2 separate regions of the Homo sapiens genome follow, and region 2 is linked to region 1. Evidence: promoter capture Hi-C in human tissues and cell types (Jung and others, 2019). All regions are on one chromosome and are shown on one strand. The core of a region is centred on a gene start or on the middle of the fragment in contact, and the rest is flanking DNA. Distances in the headings are between cores, read along the strand shown. Region 1 holds the start of SETD2 (SET domain containing 2, histone lysine methyltransferase). Region 2 holds the start of LOC124909375 (a long non-coding RNA gene).

Region 1 (7,823 bases), core at 3,293-5,792:
TGTTGTTCCCTTTGCAATTCAAATGATCCTTTGAAACTGAAAGCAGACTATGTCACTCTTCTGTTCAAAACTCTTGGCAAAGTTCTTAGAATGGCTTTACAAGACTGTAAAAAAGCTAAACCTCAGCCGAGAGCAGTGGCTCACACCTGTAATCCCAGCACTTTGGGAGGCCAAGGCAGGTGGATCATGAGGTCAGGAGTTCAAGACCAGCGTGGCCAAGAAGGTGAAACCCCATCTCTACCAAAAACACAAAAATTAGCCAGGCACAGTGGCAGGCGCCTGTAATCCCAGCTATTCAGGAGGCTGAAGCAGGAGAATCGCTTAAAGCCAGGGGGCAGAGGTTGCAGTGAGCCGAGATCACACCACTGCACTCCAGCCTGGGGGACAGAGTGAGACTCCATTCCAAAAAAAAAAAAAAGCTAAACCCCATCTCACCCTAACCCAGTTTATTATTACACCTTCTTGCTCATTCCATTCTAGCCATAATGGGCAAAACTCACAGGTCTGCCTCAACACCTTGAAACTATTCCCTCTTATTGAAATGCCTTCACCCCAGTTATTAACATGGCTACTTCTCCTTTAAATCTTTCCTAAATATCACTCTCTCAAGGATACTCACCCAGTATACCTCACTTTAAATTGCAACCTCTTCCTCAACAATTCTGAATCCCCCTTACTCTATTCCACTTTCCAAAGCACTTACCTTTGAACACTCTACATTATTTATTTAATTTTATTATTTTTTTTTCGAGATGGAATCTCCTTCTGTCCCCCAGGCTGGAGTGCAGTGGCACAATCTCAGCTCACGGCAACCTCCGCCTCCAGGTTCAAGCAATTCTCCTGCCTCAGCCTCCCGAGTAGCTGGGATTACAGGCGCCTGCCACCACACCAGACTAATTTTTTTTTTTTTTGTATTTTTAGTAGAGACGAGGTTTCACCATCTTGGCCAGGCTGGTCTCCAACCACTGACCTCAGGTGATCCACCCACCTCGGCCTCCAAAAGTGCTGGGATTACCGATGAAAGCCACCCCACTTGGCCAGAACATTCTATATCATTTATTATCACCCCTATTAGGATGTAAACTCCACAAGGGCAAAATTTTGTTTTGTACACCAATTACCCTTAGTGTGCCTATGTTTGGCATACAACAGACATGCATATGTTCAAAGACCTGCACCTCTATCACTGTAAAGTACTTGCCTATCTCCTTCATTAAAAGAGTTCCTTAAAGACTAACTGGATCTACTTTGCCGTGTCCTCAACACCTGTCCCTGGGCCTGCCCCATAATGGACACCCACTGCACAGATACTCAAGTGATTACAGCCATTTTCACCTGAAACACAATGTCCTCTATGCTGCTGAATAAAAAAGACATCTTGCAGCTGTGTCTGATTAAAAGCATGGGTACAAGACAAACCCAGAACATCAGACGCTAAGTGTTACTTCAGTCAAACTGAATTTACATTTTTGCCTCAATTTCTTCATATGTCTAAGTACCATTTCAAACCATCCAAAGTCTAAAAAGGGCACTTGGTCATTTCTCCCCTGAGCCATGTTGCCCACCTAGTCTTTTCATCCTCAACTTAAATCCTACCTTTTAACTTTTCCCTGATGACCCCAACTAGAAGCACTTACACGTGCCACATTCTGCGCCAAGTGCTCTTCATGCATTATCTCATTCAATCCTCCCAAAAAGCCCCAGTAAGTTGTTAACCATTATAATACCTATATAAAAGATGAGAAAACCCAAGTTCAGAGAGATGAAGTCATCGTCCAAGGTTAAAATAGTGTTCAGATTCAGGTCTGACTCTGAAATCCAGGTTTTTTAAACCCTATACTGCCTTTCTCTCTCCTCTCTCTAGCATTATAAACACTAACTAGCTTACTATCTCAAGAGTTTGCTGTCACTTCACTTCTCTAGCCTTCATTTTCTTCATATGCCAAACAGGTGATATTGCTCAGGATACCTACCATGATCCCCTCCAGTCTTTATAGTATTATGAAAAAAAGGAAAAACAAAACAACAACAACAAAAAACATGTTACAATTCTTTACTCCATACAGGTTAATACACAAGAAGAGGCCTGGCACAATGGCTCATGCCTGCAATCCCAGCACTTTGGGAGGCCAAGGCAGGAGGCTCACTTGAGGCCAGGGATTCAAAACCAGTAACGTAATTTATTTTTTTTTAATTAGCTGGGTGTGGTGACACATGCCTATAGTCCCAACCCAGGAGGCTGAGGCAGGAGGACTGCTTAAGCCCAGAGGTTCAAGGATGCAATGAGCCATGATGACACCACTGCACTCCAGCCTGGGTGACAGAGTGGGACCCTGCCTCTAAAAAAAAAAAAAAGGAAAAAATACACGAGAATTTAAAAATATATAATCACTGTTAGAAATCCAAAGCAGTGGATTTCTACTACATTAAAGCAATAAAAATAAAAACTCCAAAACATGTAAAACCATAAAACATTCTTGATTCCTTCCCCACTCAGGTCTACCAAAGATGCACTTCTGAGTCCATTTTCCCACATATTATGAAAAATTGTTTTTCCCCAAGAAGTGTAAGGATGTGATCCTTAAAGCTTCCGGACTTCACCAAACAACCTGGTAAAAGGAAGTGAAAGCAGGCACTTAGCCTATTCAGGGGTTAGCATGTTACTTTGTACAGAGCAAGTGCTATATAAGCATTTATTGAATCGTGATATAAAATTTTTTTTGAGGTTTTTCAAACTAAAAACCTATAACATGAGCTTTGTAATTGGACTGATGGTGCAGTAAATCAAAACAATCTTACCTAACTGACCCTGCCAGTAGCAAAACAAAAAGACCAATCTAATTAAGGTAATGTTAACCAATGGCCAAGAACCCATGAAAGGAAAAAGCCATGTTAACTTACTATTGCAAGTAAGAGTTGGGTTTTTAGAAAAGCAAAATAATGATTTATCTTGTTGTGCAGAAATGACCAACACCTCAACAGAATCCGTTTGTGTTGCAATCAAAACTATCAATTAAGATCCAGACATTTCTGGACCAATGTGAGAAGATGTGGCAAGGGATTCAAAAACGAGCCAGAGCAAACCTAAGGTAAAATGTGTCAAAACAGCAAAGCTCTTGGAATCATCCTGGTCATAAAAGTTTGACAGTTTCATGTGAAACCCCTATCAACCGATAAGTTTTAAATCAATAGTATATTCCTAGGTCTAACACCAGCAAACGGTGTTTAAGAACGGCTTTTCAAAACAATGGTCTCGTGAGGGTTCAGGGAAAGAAGTGACTCCAGGCTTTCTGAGATAGCAGATACAGCAGCAGATTCAGACCTCAAGAGAAATGTAAAGGTGTCCTAGACTGAAAAATTACTATTGGGCAAAACTGTGTGTCGGTTTTCCACAACATTGTCTTCTTTAGAGAATCCTCAAACGATTCTTGGTTTTTAACCAAGTCTTCACAAGAAATAGAAAGTCATCCGTTTAGGGTAAGAGATTCCTGTTACCAAGAAAATTGTGTCCGAAAGTGTGAAAATCTCACAACCTGCAAGAAAATGTATGTCCCTCAGGAGGCTTTCATTTTCAAGCGGAAAAACAAACCCGGTGTCACCTCAACAACGGGACCACACAAACCTCGCCATTACAAAACCCAAGTGCCAAAGGTGCACAATGTGAATCCGGAAGCACTGCAAGGCCAGGATCGAGTTCCCAGGAGGAAAAAATCAAACTCAGGAGTGCAGCGCGGGCCCCTCCACGGCCCGGGGGCCAGGCAACCCGCGCTAGGCCCTTCCGGTCCGAGGCGCCGCCGTCGCGGGGAGGTCGGGCGACGGGTCGAGCTTCCACCCGAGCCCGGGGATTCGCGGCCTACCCTCACCGGCGCCCTCTTGCCGGGCCCGGCACCGGCAGCTCCTCCGACTCTGCCCTTTGGCTAGCAGCGGGGCCCGGACGAGCCACGAGGAGCCCGAGAGGACCGCCGAGCCCCGGGATGGCCGGGTCGGTGCGGACACGGCGGTAACCGTAGGGACCGTGGCCGCCCCTCCCCCACCGGCCCGGCCCAACCGCCGCCGCGACACGAGCAGCGGCGCCAACGCCGGGCCCAACCGCGGGCCTGCTGCGGCCCCGGCCAAGCGGCTCGAAGTGGCGGCGCGGGCCTGCTCCCGACACCGACCGCGCGAGGCCACCGTGGGCCTGTTACTCCTCGCGCCGGCCCGCGCCGCCACCCGTCAGGACGCGCCGCCCTCGGCTGGGGATAAGGCGGCCGACAGCAGCGGGGGGCCGCGGAGCTGATACTTACTCAGGGGTCGGGTGCTCCGGGTCGTAGAAATCCCCCATCTTCGGAGGCGGCTGCGGCTGCAGCTGCTTCATCGGGAGCGGCTGGAGACGGCGACGCGAGCCCCCTCCCCGCAGCAGGGCGACGCGGGGGAGGGGAGGGGAGGAGGCCGCAGGTCCGACCGCGGCGGCGGCGGCGGCGGCGGCGGCGGCGGCAGGGGCGGCCCGCGTCGCTACCTCGCTCGTCGCTCCCTCCCTCCCTCGGACGCCCGCCAGCCGCTCTCTCCCTCTCACCCTCACACCGGGAGCGACGCACACCCCACCCGCCCCTCAGCTTCGCAGGCCCGGCCCCTTAAAGAGACACACACGGGCCACCGATCTGCCGCCAGTCGGCGTGCCTTGCAGCTGTTGGCTTGACCCCAGGCCGGGACGGGCAGAGCGGAACACTGCCCGGCGGGTCCAGGCCGACCGTGCCTGTGGCTCTCCGGAACAATAAACCCCCGGCCCCAGTGATGTGGGCCAGACCGGACCTGGAGAGGCGGCACCGCGACCCCTCCCGCAACCCGCCTGGCGGCCGGGGGCAGCGTGACCCGGCCCGCTACCGTGTCACAGCTGGCGACTGACAAACAGCAGGCGACGTCGGGAGAACTCCCCGAGACACCCGAGACATCAGCCTTCTCGCTCCGCGGCCCTGCAGGACCTGCCCGCCGGGAGCCCCGGAGTCCGCGGCAGCGCCGAGGGCCCCTCCCCCAGGCCTCTGGGCTCTGAGGTAACGCGGCCGCGGCTGCTCCCGGGCCCCTCGTCCCACTCGCCCCTCTCTTTTTTATTTTTCCTCGCCCTCTCTCTCCCTTGCCCGTTCATCTCGACCCTTTAGCAAGCATGGAAGCCCAGCGAGGCGGGGGATTGCTCGGAGGCCGAGCTCCCGGCAGCCTCCTCCGCCTTCCTTCCCGCTGTGCCCTCGGGGCTCCTACCTCCACCTCGGCGCGGCGCTCTGCCCCCACCCGAAGTCTCCAAGGCGGCAGCTCCCCTCTCCTGTGTGGTTCTTGGGGCCTTAGAGGCAATGTCATGAAAAAAAGGGTATTAATCACTTTCCTACAGAAATGATAAGATGAGACTAAGTAGAATAACTTGAAAGAGCTACGAGTTGTTATTTTTGGAAGGAGAGATAGGAACGCGTAAATCCAATAGCTAAACTTTCTAGACGCTGAAGAGTTTTTGGCGATAGATCATTTTGACATTGGGGGTTCATAGGGTTAGCGTTTTTTGTGTTGTTGTTGCTGTTGTTTTTCCACTAGAATTTTGAATCGGATTTTACCAGCAATTGGTAACGGAAAGGAAAGGATGTGTCTTCCAATTGAGAAACAGTGGTTAAAAACTGAAAGTGGGCCGGGCGCGGTGGTTCACGCCTGTAATCCCAGCACTTTAGGAGGCCGAGGCGGGCGGAGTAACTGAGGTCAAGAGTTCCAGACCACACTGGCCAACATGGCGAAACCCCATCTCTACTAAAAATACAAAATTTAGCCGGGCGTGGTGGCGCACGGCTGTAATTCCAGGTACGCGGGAGGCTGAAGCAGGAGAATCGCTTGAACCCAGGAGGCGGAGGTTGCAGTAAGCCCAGATTGTGCCACTGCACTCCAGCCTGGCGACAGAGCAAGACTCCATCTCAAAAAAATAAATAAATGAATGAAAATAAAAAATAAATTAGCTGGGCGTGGTGGTGCGCCTGTAATCCCAGCTACTCGGGAGGCTGAGGCAGGAGAATCGCTTGAACCCAGGAGGCGGAGGTTGTAGTGAGCCCAGATCGCACCATTGCACTCCAGCCTGGGCGATATAGCGAGACTCCGTCTCAAAAAAATAAAACAACAACAACAAAAAAAAACTGAAATATGATACGAAAGAATAAACATCCTTCAGTGGTTAACTTTTTAAAATAGCCTTTATATGTATGTAGGCTACAGTGTCTATTAGTGTTTTATAATCATTGTTTTTCACTTAGGGATTATTTTGGCTTTTGTTTTTTTTTTTCCTGGTACCTTTAGGGTTAGCATGGAGGTCCAGGGTCCATCTGACTCCCTAGGTTCGAATCTCCCAAGGCCATTTTTTTACACACCGTGATTATTACTAATTTCCCTGTGGTTTTTCTCATTATAAAATGAGAATATTGCTGCCGACAGGTCTTCTCATTATTGTGAGGATTAAATGAGCTATTTGTTAAAGGCTTAAACTTTCAGTAAACGTCAGCATTCTTCAGCCATGATAGTGCAGAGTTTAAGAGGTAGCTCTACCTGGCATTGTGTACCAGGCACTTTCTAGCCCTGTGACATTGGGATGCTTGCTTCTTATGCTTCCCGTGCCTCACCTGTAAATGGGGTATTAGCCACTGTGCAGAGAATGTTGTGAACATGCTTGCACAGTGCCTTTCATTGAGTAAGTGCCCAGTAAGTGTTATCTTTTGGGCTTTGAAAGAATAGATTGAGGCCCTGTGCCTTAGATGCCACATAGGCAATTGGGAGTCACTTGACCTTGGACAGGCAGGAAAGGACAATTTTAGGTGGAGGTGGTTGAAACAATGTGAGGTGGTAAGGACCTAAGCTGAGGTGAATGAGAAAAAAGCAGTCAGGTGCAGGTTTCCTATTTCCTTAATAAGAAAGTAAGCAATTCTCTTGCAGGAGGTACAGCTGGGCACTGGAATGCCTGGTCTCATGATAGCATTGGTTTGGTCAGAACCCAGTGCAATAAGCTTGTCAAGCCATGGGAATCAGTGAGAATTCTAAGCCCCAAACAGAAACAAATGAACTGGGTTTTTACAGGCAGTGCCTTCATCTATAACTGCACTCAGAGTTCTTTGGACTCATATTTTTAAGTCAAAGAGAATGCATGCTTGGAGCACGTACTTGGGCCTGGCCTCCTGATCAAAGCTGTGGAATAATTTGGTTTTTCATGTTATTAAATACTGACCATCCCCTACTTTCTGCACATGTTTAAAGGAAAAATGTCTAAAAAGCCCTAGCATGAAATATTTGAGGCATTCACTCCCAGAGTGCTAAAATCGTAAAAGCCTTTATAATTTCAGCTGGGTGTGATGGGATCATGCCTGTAATCCCATCACTTTGGGAGGCTGAGGCAGGTGGGTCACCTGAGGCTGGGAGTTCAAGACCAGCCTAACCAACATGGAGAAACCCGGTCTCTACTAAAAATACAAAAATTAGCCCGGCGTGGTGGCACATGTCTAATACCAGCTACTAGGGAGGCTGAGGCAGGAGAATCACTTGAACCTGGGAGGCGGAGGTTGCAGTGAGCCGAGATCATGCCATTCCACACCAGCCTGGGCAACAAGAGCGAAACTCATCTCAAAAAAATATATATATATTTATACTTTCTCCTACTGTTACTGTCTCCTGTGGGTCAAGACCAACCCTATCCCAGGAGATTCCAGGGTTGCCAGTAGTGACCCTGAAACAAAATCATCTCTTGCCTTAGGGAAGACAAAGGCCAAAAGCCTACTCTCCACAGGTAGGCTTCGGGTACCTGGTAAGGGTAGTAGAAAGAAGAAATGTAGACCGGG
Region 2 (7,823 bases), core at 1,351-3,850, 230 kb before region 1:
TGGAAACCATCAGTGGGGCCCAGCACACAGAGCAGAGAGGCCTGGCATTGGCTGGACTCAAGGGTTTGGGCACTGGGCCAGGGCTGGGCCTTAGCTGGGGTGGGAAGTCTCTCCACAAGAGGGTCATGCACACATTGAGCTGGGGAACAGATTTTCCATCTCTGAAGAAGGAAGGCTAGTGGCCTCATTGCTTTTGCAATATGTGACACCCAGCACCGGTCAAACAACTATCTCTGATGGTGACCGACTTTTCCAGCTGTGTGCAGACCTCCATACAAAGCCACAGGGAGGTGGTGGCTGTGGAGGTTGGGAGGTCGGGACTTGCTTGTTCAGGCACTTTCTGGCATAGGAGGAGGCGAGTGCTCCTGGTTAAGTGCCTCCTCCCTTCTCCTCCCACCTGTCAGCCCCAACCCAACAGTCCATCCATCCCACAAGGCAGGGTGGCAATGGCTGTCAGCCACAAACGCTGCCCTAGACATGCCTCCATGGCACATATCAGCCAACCTCCCATCAGGAAGAAGTGACGGAGAGCTTTTTAAAAAAAAAAAAAGCAGCTAAGCAGCTGACACTGACATGAACGCCCCTGAATGCCCTCTTCCATGGGCCAGCTTTCCAGGGCACATCTTATCTGGGCAGTACACAGGGGGCTGGGGGAAGGGAGCTGCCTTAGGGATGAGTCATCCATGCCTCTACAGAGTTAGCTACAAGAGGGCTGGCAGAGACAGGGAAGAGTCAGCCCAGAGAAGTAGGGCCCATCTAGGGGTAGGAATGCATCCTTTCTTCCCACAGAGCCTGGGCTGGTGGAGCTGCTGGAGCTCACTCCCACCCAATGGGGATTTGGTTGTATGGGGATAGGACAGGATTTATCCTAGGAGAATAATACAAATTTTAAAAAGGAATCTGGATCTATAGATTCAATGCAATTCTATCAAAATCCCAGCAAGCTTTTTCTAATAGATATTAACAAGCTAACTATAAAATGCATAAGGAAAGGCAAAGGAACTGTTAGAATAGCTAACATAATTCTGAAAAGGTCTCCTCAGGCAGTGGGGCAGGAACACAGGCAGGCAGGCGAGTGGCTCTTCAAGATGGCTGGTGAGGGGCAAGGTCCTGGGGTGGCTCCCTCCAATCCTGCTGGATTTTCATTTACTTAGCCACAAACCCTGGCCCTACAGTGTATCTGGTTAGACAAATGAATCTGCAAAATGAGACCACTCAGCTTATTTCCAAGGACTATCTAATGCAGCAAATAAGCGAGGCTCTACAAAGTGGTTCCTAATCACAAACTTCTAAGTCACATTTCCTTATTTCTACTCCCATCCATTGCCTCACATTTCCCCCAACTGTTGCCTTATTTGCAAAGCTGGCACATGCTTTATGTAAAAGTTACTTCTGCCTTTTCGAGGTGTGTCCAGAGTCCTTTCACTCTCTCGGGAGGACCTCACGGTGCCTTCCTTCTGCCCAGAGCCCCAGCACTAGCTGGGCAAACAGGTATGGCATTTGCTCTGTTCGTCAGGTGAAGCAAGTTTTATTTCATTTTTTTCCACCTTTGGTTGAAGATTCTGCGGCTCACTGAGGCAATGTGACTTGCCCAGGGTTAGAAAATTAACTGGCAGGGCTTGGCCTCAAACCCGGGAACTGCTTCCAAAGCTTGACCTTACTCCATCTGTCTATGTCCTTTCATTTCAGGGACTGCTGCTGAACCAAGAATCTTCTCAACATGTGTTCTTCCCCTAAGTCCCTAAATTAAAGCAGAAAAAAAAAATTTAAAGCATGATGAACTAGCTACATCAATATATGGAACTGACCACCAGGCAGGGGACACTGAGTGACCTGGAGAGTAACTGAGGCAGATGGACCCTGCTCTCTGCCAGCTAATGGGACATAGGGAGCCGAGACACTCACAGGCAGCAGGCCCTGGGGTCACCCAGTCATTAGAGTTCAGAGCTGAGTGGCCGTGTGGGATGGAATGACTCAGGGAGGAATCCTGGTCAGGGCATAAGAGGAGAAACTAGGGAACAAGAGGAAGAGGAGGGCGCCCCCTCCATCTCTCTGTAGGGCCTGGGTCAGGGACGCATCAGAGACAACTTAGTCTTTCCCATCCAGGTTGGGCCCTTGGTCTCAGATGCAGATCTGTGTAACTCCCTTGGCGTCACTCCTGAGATGGTGAGGGGGTCAGACTGGAAGGGGCCCCCAGGGACACTGTGTAAAGGAGAGTTGGGGTGATGTCTGTTCATGCCTCCCCAACAAGAGGCTATACCACCCACCCTTTCACACTGCAGATTCATGCCTCTGGACCTTTGCCACCCAAACCCTACCATCTGGATTCCAGACTTAAAAGGTATGTTCTCCATAAGGCCTTGTCCCACTGAAGGCAGGACAGTGTTAGTTGAAAGCACCCCTGAGTGGGCACCACACTCCTCTCAGCACACTCCAGAATGGCGGGTGCTGGTGGGGCTTCACACCTGGCACCTGGGCTCAACCCAGAGTGACCCTGACTGAAGTAGGCTGTTCTCGCCTCCCAGCAGCCGAGGAAGAAGGATGCTCACTGGCGAATGGCCTCAGGGGTCATCTCTCCAATGGACTGGAAGGTCACTTCTTTCTCTCCAGTGGCAAAGGAGGCTGTAGCAGGGGCTATGGCCTAGGGGGTTCTCTGGAATCAGCTCCCAATCCATAAGCATCCTGCATGAGAGCCCCTTTCCAGACTTGGGGTACAAATAAAAAGCAAGATCCCCTGGGATGGACACGGCCTCTGCTGCATCCTGCTCTTCCTGGAAAGTCCATCATCCCCAATCCCTGGACCCTGCAGTCTAAAGTTACGTCCACATAGGTCTGGCCCTGTGTTAGGCAACCAATGTTCTAATCTGCCTTCCTAAATAACCTGAGCAAGCCCTCTGCTCTGGATCTGTTAAAGTCAGAAGAGTCTGCTTTTCTCTGGGGCCTACAAATACAGGCACAACTCCTTGCTAAGGCTAGGCTTCCTGGCAACCAAGGGAGTGACCGAGTAGCAGGCCCTGCCAGGTACAGGATGCTAGAAGTCCACCTGCCCAAAGTCTCTAGAAGGACAGCCCCAAAAGCCAAGCTCTCAACGACTGGGAGGCAAACCTGTTCCACCATGCTCCACTGCCTCAAAAGAGGCCAGATTAGAGCAAAGCAGAAGAATATGATGAGCTGAAGCAGAACCCAATTCAATGTCCAGCATGGTTGGTCCCTGGGCTGCGGTGAGAAAAAACAAAACAGGGCCCTGCACCTGCCCAGCTCAGTGGGCTCAGGACAGGGCCTCAGAGCAGGTCTTGTGCTCCACTACAAATGACCTGTAAGACCTAACAGGAAGCAGGTCCTCACATGGCAGGGCCTCTTTTATCTAGAACTCACTGACAGGAGCCTGGAACTACACATGCCCTTTGGTTTTTTTCCCACAGTTTTCATTATGATATATCTCAGGCACACAGAAAAGTCCGGAGAATAACCTAACACATATACTCACCTCCTGCAGAGTCAATAAAAGTAATGTTTTGCCATATTCCAGACAGGTTTGTTCCCCTCCTGTTTTTTTTTTTTTTTTTTTTTTTTTGGTACAACAAAATCACACATCATTGGCCAGGTCCACTGGCTCACACCTGTAATTCCAACACTTTTGGGAGGCTGAAGTGGGTGGACTGCCTGAGCTCAGGAGTTTGAGACCAGCCTGGGCAACCTGGTGAAACCATGTTGTTTTTGTACCAAAAATTAGCTGGGCATAGTGGTGCGCACCTGTGGTCCCAGCTTCTTGGGAGGCTGAGGTGGGAAGATCGCTTGAGCTTGGGAGCCACGTGGAGGTTGCAGTGAACTGAGATAGCGCCACTGCACTCCAGCCTGGGTGACAGAGCGAGACCCCATCTCAAAAAAAAGAAAAAAAAAATCACACATCATAGAGCCTTTCCCTAATCCTGTTTCCTCCTTGCTTCCCCAGACAGCAATCGGAGGCATCACTCCTCATGTATGTGTTTACACTTCTGCTTTCGCTTTCTTGGCAGCACCTGACACTGTATCACACGCCTGCTTCTTCGTTAACAGCCTGTCTCCTTCCAGAAAATGTCAGCTCCATGAGGGTAGGGGCTGTACTTTGTCTGCTGTTGCCTTCCAGGGGCCCACAATGGTGCCCTGCACAGAGCAGACAACCAATAAAGTCAGTACTTGCCAACTGAGTAACACACATATATCATTTTGTGTTCCTAAATTTGATATAAATGTTCCTGCCCTGTATGCCTCAATTCTGAAACCTGCTTTTTTCCTTCACTCAACACCATGTTTGAGATTCACAACCATATGGTTCAACATTCAAGCCTCTTACTGTATGACCCACCCACCCACCTGCTAAACCAGCGACCCTTCTCTCTCATCGAGGAGGGGGAGGGGTGGGGATCAGAGAAAACACCACCAGCAAATCAAAGCCCAGAAACTGGAACTCAGGCTCCAGCCAGAGTTCCAGTTTTTGAGAAACTAAGAATAAACCAGAAGACCAAAGGGCCTCTAATATGTAGTTACCACAGAATGGGGGAAACTGTGCCAGCACCCACCCATAAAGCCACATATGTTGGGGTCACCTGGCAAAGGAGCAACTAACTGGCCTTCATCTTCCCATCACCAGCCAGGGACCTTCAAGAGCTGGGGGCTGAGGCCCAACAAAAAGCCCCAGGCCCAGTGCCGGCAGACCCACTCACTGTTTAGCATCACCAGCCTCTAAGCATAGAGCTGGTAGCATGTCTGAACCCGAGTAGGGGGCATGGACTCTGCAGGGCTCTCAGGATGGTGTGAAAACACTCTGTAAGTCGTGTCTGTGATTGCTCCTGATTACAAAGGCAGAGATGAGGCCCGCATGTGGGGAGGTTCTACTCATACTGGTGAAGGTGAAAAAAGGCTGTGGCATTAGGAAAGCCTGCTCTGGTGTGGCTGCCCAGCTTCCTCTAAAGAGCATTCCCTCCCCTCCCGCTCCCCCTGGGCAAAGCAGAGCCTAAGCCCATCAAGATCTACACCCCCCTGTGCCTGAAGGAAGCTGCTCAGAGCAAAGGAAATCAAGGCAACCTGTCCAGAAAGACACACAGTCTGGCCCCAGGAAGAGAGCCCCATCTCAGGGCTAGGCATGGGAGGGAGGACATGAGACCTCTGGAACTGCTGACACGGGAGTGGTAGTCAGACACTCTGCTCACAAAGATCAGCAGCACAGCTTTGCCTCGCTCACCCCACACACTGGTTCCGGCAACAGTTTCCAGGCTCCAGATTTTTGGGAGGCAAAGCAGCATCTGAGGCTCTGTGGAGGTTGCAGCCCTCAAGACTGCGGGGGAAGACCTTGTGCCTGCAATCACGAGGGAAGTGTACCCAAGACCCTCACGTGTGCTGTGTTTAGGCAACTTAAGTGGACCCAACCAGATGAGAGTATTCGACAAAATAAGATAAATACTACAGAGGGAAATGAAGCCAGAGGGACACAGACAACGAGAAAGGCGCCCTTTGAGCTGAACTCTATGTGAAGACCCAGACATCAAAGGTATAGGAGAGATGAGAAGGACCTCCAGGCTGAGAGGACGGACAAAAGACTGGTCAGGAAATGCTGAGTGGCCAGAGGTGGCAAGGGCCGACCACAAAGGGCTCTGGCTAGAGGGAAACCAGAGGAGGTTGGATGAGGCTAGATGGTCCAGGCAGAGCTTCACATGCCAAGTGCAGAAGGGGCACTTACTCAGTAGGCAATGGAGAACCACGCCACAAAAGGTGTATGAGAAGGGTAAAAAGGCATAATGTAAGGGCTAGAAAGAAAATGCTGGGGGCTGAGTAACAGCCAAATGGAAAATGAGGGAAAGGAGGCAGAGAAGGCCTCGACAAGGGCCTTCTGAGATGTTGAGATTTTAAGGTCTGAACAGGACAGCCATGGGCAGAAAGAAGAGGGGAGGGAACAGGGCAGACACTGAACAGAGTTGGGAGGACCCAGAGACTGGGAGACCGATGAGTGCTGGAGGAGAGAGCAGACCCTGGAGCTGCACACGGGCATTACCTGTGCTTCTCGCCTTCTTCCTCCTCTTCTCTGAGATGCTTGGTCTTTGGCTCCCCATCTTCCTTGTCCTGCAAAGAAAGGGAGAAAACCACCAGCTCAGTTGAAAGCTCCTACTTCCAGTCCACGTGGCCCAGGGAGCTAAAGAACAGGACATCTCAGAAGGGGGGCACCTGGCAGGGCCCAGCTTGGTGTCCCAGACTCCAACAGGGTACACGCCTGCTGCATCTCATAGGCACAACTGGAGCCTCATTGCCTGTGCAGAATTTAAAAATCCATAACTCTTGGCTGGGCGCGGTGGCTCATGCCTGTAATCCCAGCACTTCAGGAGGCCGAGGTGGGCGGATCTCGAGGTCAGGAGATCGCAACCATCCTGGCTAACACGGCGAAACCCCATCTCTACTAAAAACACACAAAAAAATTAGCTGGGCGTGGTAGTGGGCGCCTGTAGTCCCAGCTATTCGGGAGGCTGAGGCAGGAGAATGGCGTGAACCTGGGAGGCAGAGCTTGCAGTGAGCCGAGATCAAGCCACTGCACTCCAGCCTGGGCGACAGAGCGAGACTCCATCTCAAAAAAAAAAAAAAGCAACAAAAAAAGTCCGTAACTCCAGCCCAGTCCCAGGTACCTGGTAGCCCTTAGAGAACACTCACAGAAAGAGCTGGATGGCTTTAGGTGGTGAGAAATGCAGCCACTTGGTGCCATGGAGGGGCCATGCTGGCAGGCCAGCAGTCACCTTCATGGGTCTAGACAGAACCACCTGCTAAGCTAGGAAAGACTGGGGAAAGAAGTTACCAGCAACCAGGGCAGGATGAGAGCTCAGGCCTCCTGAGACACCTTTCAGGCCAGAGTCCTCTCCAGAAATACCTATTTGATTCGCTTTAGAAGTAACATGAACTAGGACCAGGCTTGCAACAAGATTCACTGCCTAGGCCTATGCTATATTCAGGGAGACAGAGGCAAGGGGAATTAGTCTGAAGTTTCCATGAAAATTTTCTTAATCTGGTTCTTTTGACTTCCCACCAACTGCACCTCTTTTTGAAGTCTACAGAGTCATGTTCATCTCAACCTTGACATGTTATGCTTGTTCTCAGGTGCACTGGGGGCCACAACAGAAGGAAACTGCCATACTGCTTCCACCTGAAGCAGAAAATGTCTTCCTGGACTTTATCCTTTATTATGTGATTACCTCTGTTAGGTCAGCCTGCCTGTGGACAAACTGACGCAGGGCGTGTGTGCACATGCACAAATTCGTGTGACCACACCTGGGGCCCAGGGCATGGACTGAGAGGCCCCAAGACAGAGCTGTCGTGGGTCTCCCTGCATGCCAGGGTTGGCACTCCAGAAGGTGACAATGCTCACTTCACTATGGCAGCGTCCTGCCTTTGACTCTCGCAGAGCAGTGTTCTAAGAGAGATCTGTGAGCTCCTTCCATTGGGAGCCTGCTCTGGTGGACACAGAATGCGCTGGAGCCTGCATATAAATTATAAGTAAAACAGCTACTTGAACTACCTTTCCTAGACATTTATTTATGCCATTGACAACTGCCTTCCTAAGAATGGTATCTGCTTTATGTGGAGACTGCAGGCATCAACCAGACCCTGCCATTCCTTGGCCACACAACCTCCGGGGAGCAGACTACCAAAACCAGGTCGGAGGCCTGGCCCAGAGAAAGGCTTCTGTCATGAGAACAGATCAACATGCCCCCCACCCCAACTCAGGGCAGCTCATCTCATGGCAACGAGGCAGCGAGAACAAAATAACTGACCAAGTGACAGCAGCTACACGAGAGAGGTCAACA

Evidence for each region. The method cuts DNA at HindIII sites, captures the fragments that hold promoters and counts their contacts. A contact is called where the count stands out against the background at its distance.
Region 2: a fragment that was not itself captured here is called in contact with the fragment with the promoter of SETD2 in region 1 in 1 of the 25 tissues and cell types used here (hippocampus).

The regions. Positions count from the first base shown.
Region 1 is chr3:47,159,571-47,167,393 of GRCh38, forward strand. SETD2 (SET domain containing 2, histone lysine methyltransferase) reads right to left here and starts at 4,543. Exons shown (of 21, transcript NM_014159.7): 1 at 4,284-4,543. The coding sequence starts at 4,354. It overlaps KIF9-AS1 (KIF9 antisense RNA 1), which reads left to right and starts at 4,800. Exons shown (of 7, transcript NR_033373.1): 1 at 4,800-5,027. RefSeq lists silencers at 3,836-4,145, 4,196-4,945, 4,996-5,045. The HindIII fragment of the contact is 7,701 bases long and covers 569-7,823 here.
Region 2 is chr3:46,934,970-46,942,792 of GRCh38, forward strand. CCDC12 (coiled-coil domain containing 12) reads right to left here. Exons shown (of 7, transcript NM_001277074.2): 2 at 6,029-6,096. LOC124909375 (a long non-coding RNA gene) reads right to left here and starts at 3,787. Exons shown (of 2, transcript XR_007095901.1): 1 at 3,754-3,787; 2 at 1,513-1,741. RefSeq lists enhancers at 530-824, 4,828-5,329, 5,330-5,829. The HindIII fragment of the contact is 7,811 bases long and covers 1-6,506 here.